Regions from separate parts of the Homo sapiens genome. Here regions 1, 2, 3, 4, 5 and 7 are each linked to region 6. The links are contacts of gene promoters, found by promoter capture Hi-C in blood cells and fetal thymus (Javierre and others, 2016). All regions are on one chromosome and are shown on one strand. The core of a region is centred on a gene start or on the middle of the fragment in contact, and the rest is flanking DNA. Distances in the headings are between cores, read along the strand shown.

Region 1 (3,166 bases), core at 10-2,509, 230 kb after region 6:
CACCTGAGGTTATCTGGAACTACTTAGGCATTTCTGTGTTTATTTCTGCTTAAGAGTACAGGATTATTCAAATTAGAATTTAATCAAAACAAGTAACAGTCACTGTAGGTGTGCTTCCTCCCCCAACAATTAATATGGAAATCCTAAAGGGATTATCACTTGTAATTAATTGCTTCCCTGTCCAGACTGTTAGCTTCTTGTAGGTAATGTATCCTGTTCATCTTTATTGCCCCTATATCTGTCATATTTTTATATAAAAATGTGTATATTAGTTTAATTGAACACAATATTGAAAAATAATTATATATATTCTCTATTTAAAGGAGGTGCAAAAAAAGTCTTTTGAAGAGAAATATGAAGTCTTCATGGATGTTTGCCAAAATTTTCAACCAGTTTTCCGTTACTTCTGCATGGAAAAATTCTTGGATCCAGCTATTTGGTTTGAGAAGCGATTGGCTTATACGCGCAGTGTAGCTACTTCTTCTATTGGTAATCTTCTTGTACATATAGTAGATTGAGCACTTTGTTGTTTGGCAGGTTTTATTTTTGTTTGATTCAGCACTTTTTCTACATTCTGAGTTGCAGGGGGATGATAGTGATGATGTGGTTAGTAACCAACCCATCTTCATTATTAAATCATATGTTTCTTGTTCATCCTGATTCTTAGTGTCTACCTTTTTATAACTTATGCAGAAGAGAATTCTCCTACTTCAATAAATAATAAAAAGACAGGGTTTTCTTCTTTGTTTTATAGTGAATATGGCATATTTTCTCTCCTCTCAATATATTATTTTCTGAGACTTTCTTTGGAAAATAATGAAACCTGTGATAACTTATTTCCTTTAATTATTTTTGTTCTTTTGCATATAACCTCTAAATATCATCACCTAGTGATTAATACTTTTTAATAGAATTTTGTTTTCAGAATAGAAACCATGAGATATATTTAAATATTTTGTGTACAATATATATTTTGACTTTTTTTCCCTAAGAAATTAGAATAGGTAGATAGTATGGTTAACAAAATCCTAGAGTATGAGAACTAATGTAAACATTAGAGATCATCTAATCTATTTGTTGTTTTTTTTTTTTTTAACTAAAGACAACTCCCTCCATCACTTACATACTATACCCCAGGAAGGCAGGGCATGTATGTTTTGAAAGAGTTCCCAGGTAATTGTGAAACTCTCTTCTACATAGAGAATCACTAATCTGATACAACTAGTTTATAAACAAGAAAGTAGGCCTAGTTAATGACAGAGCAAGCCAGACACCCAGTCATTCTGATTCCCTACCCAGTGTGTTTTTTTGTAATGCCATGTGATTTCTCCCATTAGTGCATGTCATCATCTGTCTTAAATACAGAAATGCAGTTTTTTGGGGGGATACACACCTGGTGAAATGAATTAATGATTAATTTGTGTTAAATATAATTCATCAAGGAGAAGAAAGTTTCACTGAAGAGTGAAGAGTTTATCCATAGACTTCTCATTTTATAAGTATGTTCAATAAAAATTTGAGTACATATAATGCACAGCTTTGACCCAGGTAAATAATGGGTCTCAACTTTAGCCACAATAATTTTTTAAGTACTAATATTTTAAAATGTGTGCCTATTAGTAAAGAGAAAATTTTTTTAGCAAATCATCTAGGATTTGTAAAATGCAATATGCATTAAAATAGCTGGCAAGATTTGAGTTAAACTCAACATGGCCGGTTATGCACATCATTTAAGTAGGCTAAAAATCCTAAACTACTTAAAGATTATACCAAGTCAGTGGTCTTAATTGAAATTATGGCTATATATTAGAAAGAGATGGAATCAGTGATTTCAGATTGTTTGTTTCTTTTTTCTCCAGTTGGTTACATACTTGGACTTGGTGATAGACATGTACAGAATATCTTGATAAATGAGCAGTCAGCAGAACTTGTACATATAGATCTAGGTAAGTAATAAAATCTATGTATCTATTCTTTTTAGTAAATATTTGGTCATCATGGAATGTTGTTTGCCTACCAAGATATTACAAATATAAGAGACAGATAAATTGAAGCAGTAAATATTGGGTTTTTTTGTTTTCAGCATAAACAGTTGTCCTAGAAGAAACAGTTAACTCTGCCTGGGGTACTGAGTGAAACTTAATAGATGAGGTGTCTTTTGAGCCTGGTCTTCAAGAAAGAAAGAAAGCATAATTCAGACAGAAGATAGAGCAGATTCAAAAGAAGGAATCAGGGCTATTCCACCAAAACAAGGAGTAATTTTAAGATGTAGCATGTTGTGGGAGTGGTGAGACATTAAATGTGTCTGGAGTGAAGTAAGCCTGTAGTTGAGTCGCTTGAGAGAGAGATTGGTACTAGACTGTAAAAAGCCAGGCTAAGGAGTTTCAACTTCATTGCATTAAACTATAGGAAATAAATGAAGGACATGATAATATTTTATTTTCAGAAATATAATTTCAGGAGCACTTTGGGGAGTGGTATTGGCAGCAGGAAGAAAAATTAAGGGATATTGTAATAGTTTAGATGAGAAATGATGAAGATTTATACTAAAGTTGTAGAAACCAGAATATTGGATTTGAGGGACATTTTTGTAGTAAACTGTACCAGTGATATTAGATGAGGAAATAGTGGGGGAGTGGGGCCCCCAGATAACTGAAGCTTCTAACTAAGGAATATATCAAGTTTTGTAAATAGTAAGAAAGTGATGAATTTAGTTTTGCTCATTATTTTGAAGTATTAATGGAATTTCTAGGTGGAATAGACAGTTTAATATATAAGAAAGAAAGAATATATAGCTTCTATGTATATATATAGACAGTTTAATATAAAAGAAAGAGAATATATATAGCTAAGGAATATATCAAGTTTTGTAAATAATAAGAAAGTGATGAATTTAGTTTTGCTCATTATTTTGAAGTATTAATGGGATTTCTAGGTGGAATAGACAGTTTAATATATAAGAAAGAAAGAATATGTAGCTTCTATGTATATATATAGACAGTTTAATATATAAGAAAGAAAGAATATATATAGCTAAGAAATATATCAAGTTTTGTAAATAATAAGAAAGTGATGAATTTAGTTTTGCTCATTATTTTGAAGTATTAATGGGATTTCTAGGTGGAATAGACAGTTTAATATATAAGAAAGAAGTGTGAATGTAATG
Region 2 (3,192 bases), core at 559-3,058, 190 kb after region 6:
AATTCCAATACAGTTTTGTGCTATTTTTCAAAGAAAAATCCACGACCTTTATTCTTACCAAATTGAGTTTTCAAGAGTCAGACTTTGTAGGACTGTATTTTCTAATGTACAGTTTTTTTGTTTTTTTTTCCAGACAGGATCTGGCTCTGTTGCCCAGGCTGGAGTGCAGTGGTGCAGTCATAACACACTGCAAGCTCTGCCTCCCAGGCTCAAGCCATCCTCCAACCTCAGCCTCACAAGTAGCTGGGACTACAGGCATGCCCCACCATCTCCAGCTAATTTTTGTAGAGATGGGTTTAGCCATGTTGCCCAGGCCGATCTTGAATTCCTGAGCTCAAGCAGTCTGCCTGCCTTGGCTACCCAAAGTACTGGGATTAAAGATGTGAGCCACTGCACCCAGCCCATGTACAGTTTTAGGTGTTGACAAGATTGTTTGGTTTTGTTTGTGTGATTTTTTTTTTTTTATGTGATATAAGCCTGGTAGGTCGGTACTTATTTCTTATCTAATTCATGAAATTGTAGGCAATTCTTCTCGGGTAGACTACAGTCCTCCTGTTGTCTAGGACCAGTCTACTGTGTTGCTGATCCAAATCATTAGTATATACAGTTGACCCTTGAACAGTGTAAGGGTTAGAGGTGCTAACCCCCTGTGCTATTAAAAATCAGGGTAAAACTAAATTAGTAGTCAAAAGTTAACTACTAATAGTCTACTGTTGACCAGAAGCCCTACCGATGATATAAACAACACAATTTTGTATATGTATTATATACTGTATTCTTAAATAAAGTAGCTTGAGAAAAGAAAATGTTATTGAGAAAATGATAAGGAAGAGAAAATGCATTTACAGAACTGTACTGTGTTTATCAATACCGTAAGTTTATATCATCTGTTTACAAAGAATCATCTGTCTGAAATTGTAGGCAACCACTGCTGGTTGATATGTACTTTAGGCCTCAATCTACAGAATGTATCAAACAATTCACCTTTTTCTTGTAATGGCATGACTTTTCTCTGCATCTTGGAAGCACCTCCAGCCACTGTGGTGTTAATCAAGGCTTATAGTATTGCAGTAAACACAGTGAAAAAATACATGAGAACCTGGAGAGATTACTTTTCATTTCTGGATACAATTTACTAGAGAAATGAACTGCTCATGTGGAAATTATTAGTGTCACATGGCATTTTAAGCAGATACTCACAACACAATAATGCTTACCACAGTAGCAACTGAGGTAGCTGCAAAATTATTACAATAGTACAATATGTACGATAGTTAATCTTATGCAATTATGATTTAATACTGCATCTTTACATTTGTTTATATTTGTCTTAACCACAAATAATGCTGTGTACAGTGTGTGTGTGTAAGTTTTGATAAATTTTAACTCTTTGTAATAGATTTGTGTATATTTTATGGTAGTAAATGATGAAATGTATCATATCAAATGTATACAAATGATGGAATGTGTAGACTAGTTGTACATTTATTTTATGCATTCATGACATAACTTTTAAAAAATTTTTCAGTAGTTCTAAACTGTGTGGTTTGTGAATTTTTTCAAATTGTGGCAAACCTCCAAAAAGTTTTCAATATATTTATTGAAAAAAAAATCCACATATAAGTTGTCCTGCACAGTTCAAACTCGTGTTGTTTGAACTGTATTTCAGAACTGTATTTCAGAATCATTACATTTTATTTCTATAACATAACATTTAGAGTTGGGAGTTACATATTGGTAATGATACAATTTAAAATTTGCTAAATTTATAGACCGATTTTTTTTCCTTCTTCAATTTTTGTTGTTTCCATGTTTTCAGGATCTTCTCTTAGAAATCTACAGAAGTATAGGGGAGCCAGATAGTTTGTATGGCTGTGGTGGAGGGAAGATGTTACAACCCATTACTAGGTAAATTGCATTTTTCTAAACAACGGTATAGTAATTCTGTTTATGAAGGAGTTATGTGTGTGTAAAACCCAAAGCTATTTTCACAATCTTTTCTTATAGACTACGAACATATGAACACGAAGCAATGTGGGGCAAAGCCCTAGTAACATATGACCTCGAAACAGCAATCCCCTCATCAACACGCCAGGCAGGAATCATTCAGGTACATTTTTTCCCAGATTTGGTAAAGCCATCACTAGTGTAGTGCTGAGGTTATTTCAGTATGTTGGTGGATATTTACACAGCCAGATAAACTCTAGAGATAAGACTAGAACTTATCTGTTTTTCAGAGGATTAGGCTAAACATTCAGGGATACTCCTGAAGCAGAGGGATGCAAAAAAAAGAGAAAAAATTCAGGGAGACACAGGAAAGTCAGACAGGTCATTGACCTAAAAGATAGTGTAGATTTCTTGATCATAGTGTTGTTGGATAACAACAGAAGACATTGCTCGAGCATATACAATGTGCCAGGTAGTGTACTTACTGCTTCACATGGAAAATCTTATGTAAACTATTTCTCATAGTTTGCAACAGAGTTGGTCCCAGAACCTGTTGTTTCTATTACTGGCTAATACTCCTTAGCCATTCTTCCATGAAATATTAGAGCCCTTTGAGCTCTATTTTTGTGTTTTTTGGGAAACATTAAACGATATTTTGGGATTAAAAAAATGTTTTTGGCCAGGCGTGGTGGCTTGCGCCTGTAATCCCAGCACTTTGGGAGGCCGAGGCGAGCAGATCACGAGGTCAGGAGGTCCAGACCATCCTGGCTAACACGGTGAAACCCCGTCTCTACTAAAAATACAAAAAAAAAAAAAAAAAAAAAAATTAGCCGGGTGTGGTGGCGGGTGCCTGTAGGCCCAGCTACTTGGGAGGCTGAGGCAGGAGAATGGCGTGAACCTGGGAGGCAGAGGTTGCAGTGAGCCGAGATCGCGCCACTGCACTCCAGCCTGGGCAATAGAGCGAGACTCCATCTCAAAAATAAATAAATAAATAAATTTTAGAGATAAGGTGTCACCCTGTTACTGATGCTGGAGTGCATTAGCGTGATCATAGTTCACTGCAGCCTTGACCTCCCTGGCTCAAGGGCACCTCTCGCTTCAGCCACCCAAGTAGCTGGGGCTACAGGTACACACTACCATACCCAGCTATTTTAAAAAAAAAAAAAAATTGTAGAGACAGGTCTTGGTTTGTTGTCCAGGCTGGTCTCAAACTCCTGGGCTCAAGTGATCCTCCTGCCTCAGCCT
Region 3 (3,547 bases), core at 777-3,276, 160 kb after region 6:
CAGTGTCCCAGGTCGACTTCAGACTGTTCTGCTGGCAGCGAGAATTTCAAGCCAGTGGATCTTAACTTGCTGGTCTCCATGGGGGTGGGATCCGCTGAGCTAGACCACTTGGCTCCCTGGCTTCAGCCCCCTTTCTAGGGGAGTGAATGGGTCCGTCTCGCTGGCGTTCCAGGTGCCACTGGGGTATGAAAAAACACTCTTGCAGCTAGCTCAGTGTCTGCCCAAATGGCCGCCCAGCTTTGTGCTTTAAACCCAGGGCCCTGGTGGTGTAGGCACCCAAGGGAATCTCTTGGTCTGCGGGTTGCAAAGACTGCGGGAAAAGCGTAGTATCTGGGCAGGAATCCACCATTCCTCACAGCATAGCCCCTCACAGCATAGTCCCTCACGGCTTCCCTTGGCTAGGGGAGGGAGTTCCCCGACCCCTTGTGCTTCCCGGGTGAGGCTACACCCCACCCTGCTTTGACTCTCCCTCCGTGGGCTGCACCCACTGTCTAACCAGTCCCAATGAGATGAGCCATCTACCTCAGTTGGAAATGCAGAAATCACCACCTTCTGCGTTGATCTCACTGGGAGCTGCAGACCAGAACTGTTCCTATGTTGCCATCTTGCTGTTCCCTTGTTTTATTTTTCTCTAGTATTTATGATAACGTGAAACATATTTTAATATATTTACTTCTCCGTATTCCACTAGTATATATGTTCCTAAAGGCACTGGTTTTTGTCTGTTCTGTTCATTGTTGTATTTTTAGCACCTAAAACAATACTTGGCATGTGATAGGTATCCAATAACTGTTTTAAAATAAATGAATGTACTTGAAAAAAAATTACATGATGCTTCAAAAACATCAAAGCTGAAAATCATTTGAGTAACTTTAAAATGTAAGCAATCAATAATAAAAGATTACTATATTGTTCAGCAGTCACATAAAGTATTAAAACTAATATTTCAGTATTTGAATATGCCGACAGTAATGTTTTCATAAACTAGATTTTGTGTCTAACTCCTCAGGTTTGGAACTGTTTTTAGTAAGACCATAATGCATTGCAAGGATTTCTAATGAATATGTTTAGTAGTTCAAGCCCTTATTAAATTTCACAGATAAAAGCAAATGTATGCTGAACTTTAAGGACTGAGGTAATATAAGACTGAATTGAATGTAATAAGGCGGCAGTGTAGTGGTGGCATTAAAAAAACTGAAGATTCAAAAAGTATAAATTCAAGAATAACATGCAAGTAGCATTCTTTTTTTTAATTTTACACTTGTTAGATTTTGTCTTAGTCCCTTTGTGTTGCTATAAAGGAATACCTGAGGCTGGATATTTACAAAGAAAAGAGGTTTATTTGGCATATGGCGTCTACATCTGGTAAGGGCCTCAGACTCATGGCAGAAGGCAAAGAGGAATCAGTGTGTGCAGAGATCACATGGTGAGAGAGGAAGCAAGGGTGGAGGCGGGGAAGGCCATGCCAGGCTCTTTTTTTTAATAACCAGCCCTTGTGGGAACTGAATAGTGAGAACTCACTCATTCCTTACCCTCAGGCCTTAATCTATTCGTGAGGGATCTGCCCCCATGACTCCGACACCTCCCATTAGGCATAACCTAATGGGGATCAGATTTCAACATGACATTTGGAGGGGTTAAACATTCAGACAATAGCAGATATCTAATGTTCAGCTATTTTAAGAGCAGTGAGTGAAACTAGAAGAATCAGAGGAACATAAACAATTATAAAAGCTTCGATTACTAAAAAAGGATAAAAGACAAAGTTGATTAAAGAGTTATCCTTAAATATGTGGGTGTTACGCAAAAGGTGTACTGATCAACTTTTTTCCATCACATAAAACAAAATTTAAATGGTACATAAAAACATTAACTTACCCGCTTTCAGAGTGATTAAATGTTAGAGCAGGTTGACATTGGAATCTGTGGACTCAACTAATTGGTGTTCGGCCAGAGAACAGTTTATCTTTTCTGGCTAGTTTGAGTTCAGTGCTGTTCAAATTTGAGCAATAGTTAAAATATATTTTGAGACCCTCTTCAGTTCTAGGAGAAAATAGATTTTGTATTCAAGACCTTAATACTAAGCTGCTGGTCTGAACCTCTTTAAATAAACTCAGGTTTTGTTAGTCTTTAAGAAAGAGCTAGTATGTTATTATGTCTCACAGAGTGATTTATTTTTGTTCTGGAATATGCTTTGGAAAGTAGGGTTTGAAATTAGAAAATTATTTCACTTTTTGTTTGTTTGTTTGCTTGCTTGTTTTAAGATTGTTCCAGGACACGAAGGGAGATTCTTCCAGGTTACTGAAAGCACTTCCTTTGAAGCTTCAGCAAACAGCTTTTGAAAATGCATACTTGAAAGCTCAGGAAGGAATGAGAGAAATGGTAATTTTAAGTAACATGTATTTGCTGTTATCATATGCTTGCTATGAATATCCCATAAATTACTTCACCAAGTTTGGTATAAGAGAGTTTATAATCCAGTAGTTTACAGTATAAAGCTGCTCTAAAACAACTGTATGAATTGATTGAAACTGCATTCTTTCTGGGTCACAATGGGTCAAATCATAGCAATTTCTTTTGGTTTAGCATTTTTATGGAGAAACCCAAAATTTAACTGAGTTTTTATGGGAGTATAAATGGCTCCCTTTTTTATTTTAAAAATCCTTTTATATGTGATCTGATTAAAAGCTAATTAAGGGAACAGGTGACAATGGGAAGAAATGGATTGAGGAGAAGAATCTCACACAAAATCAAATCATTGTGGTGTTTACAGTGAAACTTGTGATATTTCACGTTTCTGTAGAATAATATATTTTTTATGGTAATGATTATCTTAGAGTTCAAATTTTTTCATTTATTTATGCCCTGGTTTGTTTCTTACAAGTATTTAAGGTAGTTAAATAACTGTCAAGTCTGTGATAGCAGGAAATTGAAAGGAACAATTGAAAGAATGTGAGTTTAGAAAAGAATTTCAATAGATTAGAAAGATAAGTGTAAATAACATAAAATCTAATGAGATAATGTATATTATACATTTTAAATCAGCCTGTCATCTGCAAAAAGGGAAAATACTGATCTGACAGCAATTCATTTAGAAAAAGACCTAGGAAGTTTTGTATCTTGTGATTATAGTATGAATCAACATTGTATTACAGTTACCAAAAAGGCTAACTCTGTCTTACACTGCATTAATAGAAGCATATTGTCATGAACAAAGTTAATACAAGAACTTGGATCTTTTATACTTTTTGCTTTATTTTTAGATCTTTTAATTTTTATGGGTACATAGTAGGGGTGTGTGTGTGTGTGTGATACGGGTATACAATGTGAAATAATCACATCATGGAGAATGGGGTATCCATCCCCCAAACAAATATCCTTTGTGTTACAAGCAATCCAATTACACTGTTTTAGTTATTAAATGTTTCTGTATTTTTTAGAGGATAACTATAATGTTTGGTTTGGTTCTGAGTAAAGTAAAAGATTTTTAGCCAGAATGTTATAGATCTGTGTCTTATAAAAAATGGATGAAGGAATTGACTTAGTG
Region 4 (3,278 bases), core at 324-2,823, 240 kb after region 6:
AGAGAAAAAGAGCCATAGGAATAGGGTGGAGATCAGAATTTCAGATTTGTTACTGATAAAACTATTGGAGAAGACGGCTTAGGAGTGAGGTCCAAATAGGCTTGCTGGTGCTCTCCAGTTCCCACATCCCAATCTATACCTTGAGACAGCCTGGGCTGAGGAAGAATTGGGCCCTACAAAGCAAATACACTAACCCAGGGTTAAGAGTAGAGAGAGAAGGAAAGAAAGTGACTAACCTTTTAATAGATTAGTTTCATCCAGTCAGGAAACATGGGTCAAGGGATGTCACCCCTAACCATGGAGGAAGAATGAATTCAGAATGAAATGAGAAGCTTGGAGCATTATGCTAGGATAGTTTCCTCAAGGAAACATGAAGTGTGCATGATGTTTGTTCCCCTCCCCCATCAACTACCATGTGACTGGCTTATTTGTATGATACTGGTTCTACTGTTTCTAAGTATGTGATTAAAATGTACATTGTTCTTTTAATACATATGTTCTCTCTGTTTAGGTCCTTCTATATGATCCACTCTTTGACTGGACCATGAATCCTTTGAAAGCTTTGTATTTACAGCAGAGGCCGGAAGATGAAACTGAGCTTCACCCTACTCTGAATGCAGATGACCAAGAATGCAAACGAAATCTCAGGTGAGCAGTATTTTAAGAAGGTCCTGTTGTCAGTTTTTCAGATTTTCTTATTCCCAAGGCCTTTAAACTGTTCACCTCACTGAAACCTTTGTGTTTTTGTCCTTAGTGATATTGACCAGAGTTTCAACAAAGTAGCTGAACGTGTCTTAATGAGACTACAAGAGAAACTGAAAGGAGTGGAAGAAGGCACTGTGCTCAGTGTTGGTGGACAAGTGAATTTGCTCATACAGCAGGCCATAGACCCCAAAAATCTCAGCCGACTTTTCCCAGGATGGAAAGCTTGGGTGTGATCTTCAGTATATGAATTACCCTTTCATTCAGCCTTTAGAAATTATATTTTAGCCTTTATTTTTAACCTGCCAACATACTTTAAGTAGGGATTAATATTTAAGTGAACTATTGTGGGTTTTTTTGAATGTTGGTTTTAATACTTGATTTAATCACCACTCAAAAATGTTTTGATGGTCTTAAGGAACATCTCTGCTTTCACTCTTTAGAAATAATGGTCATTCGGGCTGGGCGCAGCGGCTCACGCCTGTAATCCCAGCACTTTGGGAGGCCGAGGTGAGCGGATCACAAGGTCAGGAGTTCGAGACCAGCCTGGCCAAGAGACCAGCCTGGCCAGTATGGTGAAACCCTGTCTCTACTAAAAATACAAAAATTAGCCGAGCATGGTGGCGGGCACCTGTAATCCCAGCTACTCGAGAGGCTGAGGCAGGAGAATCTCTTGAACCTGGGAGGTGAAGGTTGCTGTGGGCCAAAATCATGCCATTGCACTCCAGCCTGGGTGACAAGAGCGAAACTCCATCTCAAAAAAAAAAAAAAAAAAACAGAAACGTATTTGGATTTTTCCTAGTAAGATCACTCAGTGTTACTAAATAATGAAGTTGTTATGGAGAACAAATTTCAAAGACACAGTTAGTGTAGTTACTATTTTTTTAAGTGTGTATTAAAACTTCTCATTCTATTCTCTTTATCTTTTAAGCCCTTCTGTACTGTCCATGTATGTTATCTTTCTGTGATAACTTCATAGATTGCCTTCTAGTTCATGAATTCTCTTGTCAGATGTATATAATCTCTTTTACCCTATCCATTGGGCTTCTTCTTTCAGAAATTGTTTTTCATTTCTAATTATGCATCATTTTTCAGATCTCTGTTTCTTGATGTCATTTTTAATGTTTTTTTAATGTTTTTTATGTCACTAATTATTTTAAATGTCTGTACTTGATAGACACTGTAATAGTTCTATTAAATTTAGTTCCTGCTGTTTATATCTGTTGATTTTTGTATTTGATAGGCTGTTCATCCAGTTTTGTCTTTTTGAAAAGTGAGTTTATTTTCAGCAAGGCTTTATCTATGGGAATCTTGAGTGTCTGTTTATGTCATATTCCCAGGGCTGTTGCTGCACACAAGCCCATTCTTATTTTAATTTCTTGGCTTTAGGGTTTCCATACCTGAAGTGTAGCATAAATACTGATAGGAGATTTCCCAGGCCAAGGCAAACACACTTCCTCCTCATCTCCTTGTGCTAGTGGGCAGAATATTTGATTGATGCCTTTTTCACTGAGAGTATAAGCTTCCATGTGTCCCACCTTTATGGCAGGGGTGGAAGGAGGTACATTTAATTCCCACTGCCTGCCTTTGGCAAGCCCTGGGTTCTTTGCTCCCCATATAGATGTCTAAGCTAAAAGCCGTGGGTTAATGAGACTGGCAAATTGTTCCAGGACAGCTACAGCATCAGCTCACATATTCACCTCTCTGGTTTTTCATTCCCCTCATTTTTTTCTGAGACAGAGTCTTGCTCTGTCACCCAGGCTGGAGTGCAGTGGCATGATCTCAGCTCACTGAAACCTCTGCCTCCTGGGTTCAAGCAATTCTCCTGCCTCAGCCTCCCGAGTAGCTGGGACTACAGGCGTGTGCCAACACGCCCGGCTAATTTTTTGTATTTTTATTAGAGACGGAGTTTCACCGTGTTAGCCAGGATGGTCTCGATCGCTTGACCTCGTGATCCACCCTCCTCGGCCTCCCAAAGTGCTGGGATTACAGGTGTGAGCCACCGCGCCCGGCCTCATTCCCCTCATTTTTGACCGTAAGGATTTCCCCTTTCTTGTAAGTTCTGCTATGTATTTAAAAGAATGTTTTCTACATTTTATCCAGCATTTCTCTGTGTTCTGTTGGAAGGGAAGGGCTTAGGTATCTAGTTTGATACATAGGTAGAAGTGGAACATTTCTCTGTCCCCCAGCTGTCATCATATAAGATAAACATCAGATAAAAAGCCACCTGAAAGTAAAACTACTGACTCGTGTATTAGTGAGTATAATCTCTTCTCCATCCTTAGGAAAATGTTCATCCCAGCTGCGGAGATTAACAAATGGGTGATTGAGCTTTCTCCTCGTATTTGGACCTTGAAGGTTATATAAATTTTTTTCTTATGAAGAGTTGGCATTTCTTTTTATTGCCAATGGCAGGCACTCATTCATATTTGATCTCCTCACCTTCCCCTCCCCTAAAACCAATCTCCAGAACTTTTTGGACTATAAATTTCTTGGTTTGACTTCTGGAGAACTGTTCAGAATATTACTTTGCATTTCAAATTACAAACTTACCTTGGTGTATCTTTTTCTTACAA
Region 5 (3,314 bases), core at 25-2,524, 180 kb after region 6:
TATGACCTTGAATTCCTGGGTACAAGGAATTCTCCTGTCTCAGCCTTCTGAATAGCTGGAACAACAGGCACACACCACTACACCTAGCTACTTTATTTATTTTTTTTATTTTTTGTAGGGACAGGGGTCCCACTATGTTGCCTAGGTTGGTCTCGAATTCTTGGCCTCAAGTGATCCTCCTGCCTTAGCCTCACAAAGCATTGGGATTAGAGGTGTGAGCCACGGCATCTAGCCATGCTTAAACATTTTTCATTTCTTTTTCTTTTTTTTTAAGACGGAGTTTCGCTCTTGTTGCCCAGGCTGGAATGCAGTGGCACTATCTTAGCTCACTGCAACCTCCACCTCCTGAGCTCAGATTCTCGTGCCTCAGCCTTCCTAGTAGCTAGGATTACAGGCACCTGCCACCATGCCTGGCTAATTTTTTGTATTTTTTTTAGTAGAGACGGGGTTTCACCATGTTGGCCAGGGTGGTCTCAAACTCCTGAGCTCAGGCAATCCGCCCACCTCAGCCTCCCAAAGTGCTGGGATTACAGGCATGAGCCACCGCGGCTGGCCCATGCTTAAACATTTTTAACACCTTCCAACCATGTAAAAGAAAATTTTAATTCCTTAGAGCCAGACATACAAGTTAGTCTTGTCTTCTAGTCCAGTTTACCTGAATGAAAGAAATATGTCTCATTTTAATACTTTAGTCATATGTGTTATGTGTGTCTATATATATGTAAGTATGTATTTGTAAGTTTTTCTAGCTTGCTTGTTAATTTGATTTGAAATGTACATTATTACAGTATTTGGGAAACTTTCTACTTTGTGTTTTGATTTTCATCTTCCTATACCAATTAATTTCATATTTCTTTTTTTTTTTTGAAACGAAGTCTCACTCTGTCGCCCAGGTTGGAGTGCAGTGGCACAGTCTCAGCTCACTGCAACCTCCACCTCCTGGGTTCAAGTGATTCTCCTGCCCCAGCCTCCCAAGGAGCAGGGATTACAGGTGTGTGCCACCATGCCCAGCTAATTTTTTGTATCTTTAGTAGAGACGGGGTTTCACCATGTTGTCCAGGCTGGTCTTGAACTCCTGACCTCAAGTGATCCATCTGCCTCGGCCTCCCAAAGTGCTGGGATTACAGGCGTGAGCCACCACGCCTGGCCTAATTTCATATTTCTCTTGTGTTGTTTTTACTCTCAGTACTTTTTAAAATGAATTTTAGTTTTGACTATCTGAGCATAGAGTTTCTAATACATTTGAGATATATAAAATGTATGTAAATAGAAACACCATTATTTCTTGTACTTGTGTTCTTGAGTATTTTATGGGCTAGAGATCTGCCTTGTGCATTACAGCCACTAGCCATTTGGCTATTTAAATGAAGTAAAATTAAATGAAATTTGAAGTTCAGTTTTTTCATTGGTACTGAACACATATCAAGTTCTCAGTAGTACATTTGGTCAGTAGTGATCATTGGACAGTGTAGATTATAGACATTTCCATCATTGCAGAAAGTTCTGTGGGACAGTGCTGGTCTAAACTCTAAATGTTAGATGTTAAAAAGCCAAGCAGGCTCCCAAAGTCCCTTCTAGCTTTAGTGTTGAATGATTCTTGTGCTTCTGTTTGTGATTTTGCTAAGGTGTTGACTTATCTGCACAATTTGTTTAAGACATTTTATTTTCTCTGTTGTCACATATTGCTAATCACTTTCAAAAGAATCTGTTGTATTAAGGAAGTTCAGATTCATTCCCTACATATTTTTTGAGCTACTCATGACTTAAAACCTTTTTTAAACTTTATAGAAGTTTTCTAGTCAGATAATTTAATATATATGCAATTATAAACAAAAGTGTTGTCTTCATGCTAGTTTAAACTAATTTTTAAAAAATTATTTCTAGATAATCCGCAAGATGGGATTATGGTGAAACTAGTTGTCAATTTGTTGCAGTTATCCAAGATGGCAATAAACCACACTGGTGAAAAAGAAGTTCTAGGTAAACTACAGTCATGCGCTGCGTGACATTTCAGTCAACTGCGGATCACATATAGGACAGATTATAATACTGTATTTTTACTGTATGTTTTCTGTTGCCTGTAGTATTCAGTATAGTAACATGCTATACAGGTTTGTAGCCTAGGTGTGTAGTAGGCTATACCATCTAGGTTTGTGTAAGTATATTCTGTGATGTTCACGCAATGACAGAATTGCCCAATGACACATTTCTCAGAACATATCTGTGTCATTAAGCAAAGCATGATTGTATTGGCGGAATGAATGTGAGTTATGCGGTGGTCATCTTTATTATATGAGTGGTTATCTTTATTATATCTTCAAAATAAGTGAGGGTTTGTCATTTGGGATATTGGGGAAATATGAGATGCTAGCTAAGTTACATGCCTATTTAATTAAAATGTCCCTAAAAAGGCCCCTTTTGTACTTTTCTTCCTTAAATATTCATATAAAATGAAAAGTTAGAGATTTACATATGTGTATAACTTAATTTGAAAATGCCTTGTAAATATTTAGGAAAGTCAGAAATACTTGTTTTTAGAGTTAAGTTGCAAATAAATTGACTGCCGATATATTTTATAAATACATTATAACTGACAGGTACTCAGTGTCTTTTGTTATGTAGCAGACATAAGAATGAAGACTTGGAGGGCTAGATTAAACTTAAATAATTAAAAACCATTCAAGTCCTTTCCTACAGCCATTTGAGGGGAAACCTAATGTAAAATAAGAAGCCAACATCATCTCTAGTTTAGGTGTTTAGATTTAGTGACCACGGGATGGAGAAATCACCTGGTTAAAGTCAGCTTGAAGCTCTCGTGATGGTTTTTGTTTCTAATTAGAAAAATAGGAATAAGTAGTGTTTCACAGATTCTACTATCTTTCTTCAACAGCCTTAACTTCTCATTAGGAGCCTAATATCTACAGTACTTCCTTTTTTGTAGATTTTAAAAAATTGAGATATATCCTAATATAGAAAAGTATACAGATCAAAAATATCTAGCTTGAAGAATGTTTGCAGAGTACGCTTGTACATGTAGCACCCAGACTAAAAAACAGAATCTTACCAGAACTGTAGAAGTTTTCTTTAACCAACATACTTACCTCCTTGTCCATAGTGGCACTGCTTTTATGGACAGACCTGATTTACAACAGAAGCCCTAAGTGGCTTTCCTGTGTAGCATAAAATTAATGTGGTTTGTTCTCACAGCTTTCCCCCTAAGATCAGGAATGAGACAAGGCTGTCCACTTTCACTACTGCTGTTCAACAGTGTACTGGAAGTTCTAGCCAGAGCAATTAAACAAGAAAAAGAAATT
Region 6 (3,230 bases), core at 1-2,500:
CAAGACCCCTTCTCTATATAAAATAAAAATTAAAAAAATTAGCATGGTGGAGCATGCCTGTAGTCCTAGCTACGTAGCTACTTGGGAAGCAGAGACAGGAGGATCCCCTAGCTACTTGGGAGGCAGAGACAGGAGGATCCCCTGAGACCAGGAGTTTGAGGCTGCAGTGAGATATGATTGCACCACTGTACTCCAGACTGGGTGACAAGAGCGAGACCCTATCTTAAAAAAAAAAAATACTCCAAAACATAATGGCCTAAAATAACAACCATTTGTTTTCTCTCGTTTCTGTGGACCATGAATTCAGACAGCATGGTGGGTATGGCTTGTCTCTGCTCCATGATGTCTGGGGTCTCAGCTGGAGTGGTTGAAGGTTGGGGACTGGAATCACCTGAGGCCTTTTTACCCATATTTGTATCTGGACTGAGCCTGGAATTTGATTGCTTCAAAATATTTTCACGGCTGGGTGTGATGGCTCACGCCTGTAATCCCAGCACTTTGAGAGGCTGAGTCTGGCCGTCTGCTTGAGCCCAGGAGTCAGCAACCAGCCTAGGCAACATAGGGAGACCTAGTCTCTACAAAAAAAAAAAAATACAACAATTTGCTGGGCGTGGTCGCCTGCGCCTGTAATCCCAGCACTTTGGGAGGCCGAGGAGGGAGGCTCACTTGAGTCCAGGAGTTCAAGACCAGTCTGGCCAACATGGTGAAACCCCGTCTCCACAAAAAATACAAAAATTATCTGGTTGTGGAGGCTTTCGCCTGTAGTCTCAGCTACTGGGATGGCTGGGGAGGGAGGATCGCTTGAGCCCTGATGGTCGAGATTACAGTGAGCTGTGGTCACGTCACTGCACTCCAGCTTGGGTGACAGAGTGAGACCTTGTCTCAAAAAAAAAAAAAAAAATCCTAAAATATTTTCATGAGTTTGTGCTGGGTAGGCCTAAGGGAAACATGCTCAGTAAATCGAAAAATCTCGGATTACACATAAACCACCGGCCCCGGCAGGTTAGACTTGGTGGACACGGGAGCCAGCAGCGTGTCAGGTGCTCGTTGACCCCAGCGCCAGTGTCTCCATCCACGTCCTTCACTCGTCAACCTTTCCTGGCCCAGGCTGCGGTGTCCCAGCGCCAGGCTCCGCCCCGCCCTTGGCTGCCGGCCAATCGCCGCCGACTGAGAGGCGACTATTGGAGGAAGCGGGATGGGCGGTGCCCGCGCCGGGCCGCTAGGGGTGCGGGGTTGGGGAGGAGGCCGCTAGTCTACGCCTGTGGAGCCGATACTCAGCCCTCTGCGACCATGGCTGTGCTGGCGGCACTTCTGCGCAGCGGCGCCCGCAGCCGCAGCCCCCTGCTCCGGAGGCTGGTGCAGGTGAGCGGGGTTCGTCCCCACAGCACTCAGACCCGGGATGCGAGGAGTCCCCGCCTCGGAAGCTTCCAGCCCGCGGCCGTTGCGGCTCCCGCGGCCCGGGCGCGCGGCTTAGGCCCCAGGACAGTCACGCGACGGGTTCTGGTCCAAAAACCGCCTAAGTGCTCCGATAACACCCAGGGACTCGCCTATTTTTACAGCGCGTTTCTACTTCCAAGGTCTCGGCGTAATCATCTTAATGAGCGTTACTGGTGTGTCAAACAAGGGCACGTGTCTGGGCGGGCAGGACCGCCAGGATTGGCGCTGGCCCGGCCTGAGCGGTGGGATCGGGGAGAGTCTCTTTGCAGGCCTGTGCAGCTGCTCCCGAGATTTTCTTTAAAACATATTTGTGTGCGTTATTGTCAGGAGAGGTTCCTTTTCTTTTTTAATACAATAGATAATCATTGGGCATACAAGGGGAGAGGGCACCATGTGATCATAACAGATGTTTTTTGGAGCAGCCTGAAATTTATCAGGGAAAACAAATGACTACTCAGATAATACAATAAATTATACTTGACATATGAGCAAAGCTCACATACTGAGGGCGTTCCAAGGGCTGTCGCTCTTCTGACCGTTGTGTTTAGGGAACACAGCAGGGGCAGAGTCTCAAAGAATTTATTCTCCACATGCGTAAGCAAGGGAGTACGCACCACAGATTGTCAGGCAAAGCCTCAGGAATAGGTAGAGACCTTCAGGGTGTGGTTGGTGAAGCTTGAGTTTTCTAGGTCGATGGGGGCAATAAGCTTGGAGATCCAGTTATGTTGTGAGTATGGACTTGACCCTAGTTAAGTAGGGATTGTTGATATGTTTGTTTTTGTTGCAATGGTAGGTCACTCTAGTTCTTACGTCTGGGCGTAGAATAACATTACTTGCACAAGGGTGCTGGCGGTAGGAGCTTTGCAAGAGATTGTAAAAGAACCAGTCTAGGACTTGACAATTAGGGAGTGAGGGTGCGAAGCCAAGGGAAAAGAAAGAGTCTAAAATTGATCCTGGGTGACTGAGATAATAGAAAAGTCACAAGGCGTAGGTTTCCAGGGAAGATGAGTTTTTAGCCTATTTGTTAGTCTCATGGGATGAGTGAAGAAATCACAAGAAAGTAATTAGGTTATCTTGGGTTTCAGTCAGTATTGACTAGGTGACATAGGTGAACTAGGTACTCTAGAGATGTAAAAAAAAAAAGTTCAGAACCTTCTTAATTTATGGTTTAATTAAGATCTTACAATCAGGTTGGTTGAGGTGGCTTATGCCAGTAATCCCAGCACTTTGGGAGGCCGGGGTGGGTAGATCATTTGAGGTCAAGAGTTCAAGACCAGCCTGGCCAACGTGGTGAAGCCCCACCTCTATTAAAAATACACACACACACAAAAATTAGCTGGGTGTGGTGGCAGGCGCCTGTAATCCCAGCTACTTGGGAGGCTGAGGCAGGAGAATCGCTTGAACCCGGGAGGAGGGGAAGGTTGCAGTGAGCTGAGATCATGCCACTGCACTCCAGCCTGGGCAACAGAGTGAGACTCCGTCTTAAAAAAAAAGATCTTAAAATGAAACACAAATACTCCTCATGAAAAAAATAAGCCTGTACATGCTGTAATGTATGATATGTGACATTCATATTACTGAACTCTAGGAAGCAGTTGTATTGGACACTTGAATTAAATGGTCATTTACTGAACTATAAACAGGATTTCCAGTTTTCTGTGCTATTTTGTAGAATGGAATTTGACCTCTCATTACATTGGCTCTTTTCCCTTTGCTTACCAGGTCTCTTTTATGGTCAACAAATCTTTATGGACTTTATTGGAGCACATTGCCTTTCTAGCTCTAATCACTTT
Region 7 (2,669 bases), core at 1-2,500, 130 kb after region 6:
ACACAGACACACACACACTCACATATCCCTGATCATTTTCATAGTTTGTTACTTCAGTTAAAGATGTCAAATTCTATTTCAGATGCTTTTCTTGTTTGGCCGAGAAGACTTAATAAATGCATAAGTGAATTTAGTTTCAAATGTTGACAAATTATTAAAGACTAATGTTAAGGAATTTCTTTTTTAGTTAAAAAATTTTTAATTGATCTATAATAGAGTTATATATTATCAAGGTACATGTGATAATTTGACACACTCATATGACACACTCATGTAGGGTGATGGGATATCAGCACCCTACGTATCTTTTCTTCATGCTAGGAACGTTTGAATTATTCTCTTCTTGCTGTTTGGAAATGTACAATAGATTAATGTTAACCGTAGTCACCCTACTGATGTATCGGACACCAGGTCTTATTCCTTCTAATTGTATACGTGTATCCAAAAGACTTTCTTTAAAGAATTATGAAGAGTTTAAATTTCTTTTATGTGCAATTTATCATTATTTATTAAATAGCCATGTTTAAATTGTAGTACTATGCACTGTTAATAAACGAGCTATTTTTTAATCAAGAATCTTCCCAAATGTAATCAGACTTTTAACAGTTTTTATGTTCATTTAGTCACCTTAACTAAATGTATGTGCCAGGCACTGTCCTGATAGATAAAGTCTTTGCCCCTCCAATAGCTTGCTTTTCACAATTGTCCTTTGTTTTGTTATAGTCCTGCAGTATGCTGTTTGACTTTGGCACTGACCACCAGTATAGTTCCAGGAACGGTAAAAATGGGAATAGAGCAAAATATGTGTGAAGTAAATAGAAGCTTTTCTTTAAAGGAATCAATAATGAAATGGCTCTTATTCTATCAGTTAGAGGGTGACTTAGAAAATAGCACAGAAGTGCCTCCAATTCTTCACAGGTAATTTAAGTTCATTAGCATGCTGCTGTTTTTTTTGTTTGTTTTATCAGGCTCTCTCCACTTATTTGATGCCAGATGGCTTTATTTTATAATAATAATGCAGAATTTCCCAGATCTAACCTTAATTATTAAATATTATGTTTGTTTTTACAGTTATCTGTGTCTTTATGCCTGATTGCTTCTGAAATAAAGGGTTGTCTCACTGTGAGAATATGGGGGATGTGCATGAAAAATGCACATATAATTCTTTGAGCATTTATGTGTTCCTTTCTGATTTTTTAAATAAGTAAGTCCATATATTTGAGTCATGTAGATCCTGGATCCTTTCTCATAATGGGAGTGTCTTTTGGGTAAAAGATGTTTTATGAATGAGGTGAGGAAACGAGGAAGACAAAACAGGATGTAAGCACTAGGATAAAGGAATGGAGTCCCTCGTCCACTTAACCTTTCCACAGATTGGTAATTGGAACCAAATGATTGGAGAGCAGACCTCCGAATGGATCCAATTAAAGTACTTTTGCTTTAATTTTACAACCTTTTATTTATTTCAGAAATAATGTTAAACATGCTGTTTCTAAACAGTATTGGAAATGATAATAACAATGGTTGTCCTCCTTAAATTGTCCTTTTAGATATTAAGAAATTTAGTATAGATGAAAGCAATTTTAATCTAGGATCCAAATTTTAGAAGTCAAGATTTATAGCTAAACATGGATGTTAAAGTTTAAAGTATTCTTTACATGGCTTTTGGTCTTCTAAGTGAAGCTTTTTGTTTTTCTTTGTAGTAATTTTCCTCATCTTGTACTGGAGAAAATTCTTGTGAGTCTCACTATGAAAAACTGTAAAGCTGCAATGAATTTTTTCCAAAGCGTGCCAGAATGGTATGTTATCTAATAATGCTCTTTATCATTTTAAGCTATAGCTTTAATTACAAAGATGATAATTTTAGCTGGGTAGTAGCTGCATCTTAATAATTGTAAACTAAATTGGTCCAAAAAAATTGCAACTGTTAGCCAGGGAAGAGGTTGTTTTAATTCAGTGATTGTAATCTATGTTATATAACATTAGACCAAGCTTACTATTTTTTAATGCTGTATAGTATAATATGTGACAAGTGCCAATGAGAAAAACTGAATGGTTATGCTGGGAAATTAAGAATATAAAATTTATATGAAATAAGTTCTTAAAGATGTTACCCATTTCTGTACATCAACTATGATTTGACTATTTGTTAGCTTTAAAAACTAATGATAATTGAAAACAAAAATAAATCTAAACCTGAGTTTAGTTGATTGACTCAAGAGACTTAGATTGTATTGCTGTGACTGAAAATGACTCACTGGCACAAACATTCCTTATCTCCCTCAAGAGGGCAAAAGGATGCGTAACTGCTTACCTATACCAGATGTTAAAGGTTTTTAAACCTATGCTCTTTACTTCCTCTGCTTGGTGAAAAAAGGGATATGTTTGCAGACAATGTTATGCTTAACATTTATATCTGGTGTTTTTAAAAATACTTTCTGAATTTGCCTTTGAGATTGTAACTTGTATTTTTTCTCTATCTATTAGTAAAATTTGCTACTGAATAATGACATTTGATATAAGTAGGTCTCAAAGTCCGAAGAAGAGAAGCATTTAAAAGAATAATCTATTAATTATATAAGTAGTCTTTGAATGATGTAGATACTAGGTTAATGTTTTCCTTTGTAATATATTGCTAATACATATAAGGCAAAGCATTAGGTACTTGG

Evidence for each region. The method cuts DNA at HindIII sites, captures the fragments that hold promoters and counts their contacts. A CHiCAGO score of 5 or more calls a contact.
Region 1: a fragment that was not itself captured here is called in contact with the fragment with the promoter of ACAT1 in region 6 in 7 of 17 cell types (naive CD4 T cells, naive B cells, neutrophils and 4 more); the score reaches 8.2 in naive CD4 T cells.
Region 2: a contact is called between a fragment that was not itself captured here and the fragment with the promoter of ACAT1 in region 6, in 2 of 17 cell types (neutrophils and M2 macrophages). The highest score is 5.4, in neutrophils.
Region 3: a fragment that was not itself captured here is called in contact with the fragment with the promoter of ACAT1 in region 6 in 1 of 17 cell types (M2 macrophages); the score reaches 5.8 in M2 macrophages.
Region 4: a contact is called between a fragment that was not itself captured here and the fragment with the promoter of ACAT1 in region 6, in 2 of 17 cell types (neutrophils and non-activated CD4 T cells). The highest score is 5.6, in neutrophils.
Region 5: a fragment that was not itself captured here is called in contact with the fragment with the promoter of ACAT1 in region 6 in 1 of 17 cell types (neutrophils); the score reaches 7.6 in neutrophils.
Region 7: a fragment that was not itself captured here is called in contact with the fragment with the promoter of ACAT1 in region 6 in 2 of 17 cell types (M2 macrophages and M1 macrophages); the score reaches 6.5 in M2 macrophages.

The regions. Positions count from the first base shown.
Region 1 is chr11:108,345,420-108,348,585 of GRCh38, forward strand. ATM (ATM serine/threonine kinase) reads left to right here. Exons shown (of 63, transcript NM_000051.4): 58 at 324-489; 59 at 1,860-1,946. It also overlaps a transcript of C11orf65 not described here. Among named protein-coding and RNA genes, the nearest start is that of C11orf65, 120 kb to the right of the region's middle. The HindIII fragment of the contact is 2,793 bases long and covers 1-2,656 here.
Region 2 is chr11:108,314,004-108,317,195 of GRCh38, forward strand. ATM (ATM serine/threonine kinase) reads left to right here. Exons shown (of 63, transcript NM_000051.4): 41 at 1,820-1,908; 42 at 2,008-2,110. It also overlaps a transcript of C11orf65 not described here. Among named protein-coding and RNA genes, the nearest start is that of ATM, 93 kb to the left of the region's middle. The HindIII fragment of the contact is 6,335 bases long and covers 1-3,192 here.
Region 3 is chr11:108,277,227-108,280,773 of GRCh38, forward strand. It overlaps ATM (ATM serine/threonine kinase), which reads left to right. Exons shown (of 63, transcript NM_000051.4): 23 at 2,265-2,382. Among named protein-coding and RNA genes, the nearest start is that of ATM, 56 kb to the left of the region's middle. RefSeq lists an enhancer at 1-709. The HindIII fragment of the contact is 588 bases long and covers 1,733-2,320 here.
Region 4 is chr11:108,364,571-108,367,848 of GRCh38, forward strand. ATM (ATM serine/threonine kinase) reads left to right here. Exons shown (of 63, transcript NM_000051.4): 62 at 512-648; 63 at 755-3,278. The coding sequence ends at 938. It also overlaps a transcript of C11orf65 not described here. Among named protein-coding and RNA genes, the nearest start is that of C11orf65, 100 kb to the right of the region's middle. The HindIII fragment of the contact is 1,297 bases long and covers 926-2,222 here.
Region 5 is chr11:108,295,403-108,298,716 of GRCh38, forward strand. ATM (ATM serine/threonine kinase) reads left to right here. Exons shown (of 63, transcript NM_000051.4): 33 at 1,885-1,980. Among named protein-coding and RNA genes, the nearest start is that of ATM, 74 kb to the left of the region's middle. The HindIII fragment of the contact is 6,595 bases long and covers 1-3,314 here.
Region 6 is chr11:108,120,317-108,123,546 of GRCh38, forward strand. ACAT1 (acetyl-CoA acetyltransferase 1) reads left to right here and starts at 1,251. Exons shown (of 12, transcript NM_000019.4): 1 at 1,251-1,362. The coding sequence starts at 1,291. RefSeq lists silencers at 913-1,451, 1,053-1,462. The HindIII fragment of the contact is 9,706 bases long and covers 1-1,422 here.
Region 7 is chr11:108,251,114-108,253,782 of GRCh38, forward strand. It overlaps ATM (ATM serine/threonine kinase), which reads left to right. Exons shown (of 63, transcript NM_000051.4): 11 at 724-918; 12 at 1,704-1,799. Among named protein-coding and RNA genes, the nearest start is that of ATM, 29 kb to the left of the region's middle. The HindIII fragment of the contact is 861 bases long and covers 821-1,681 here.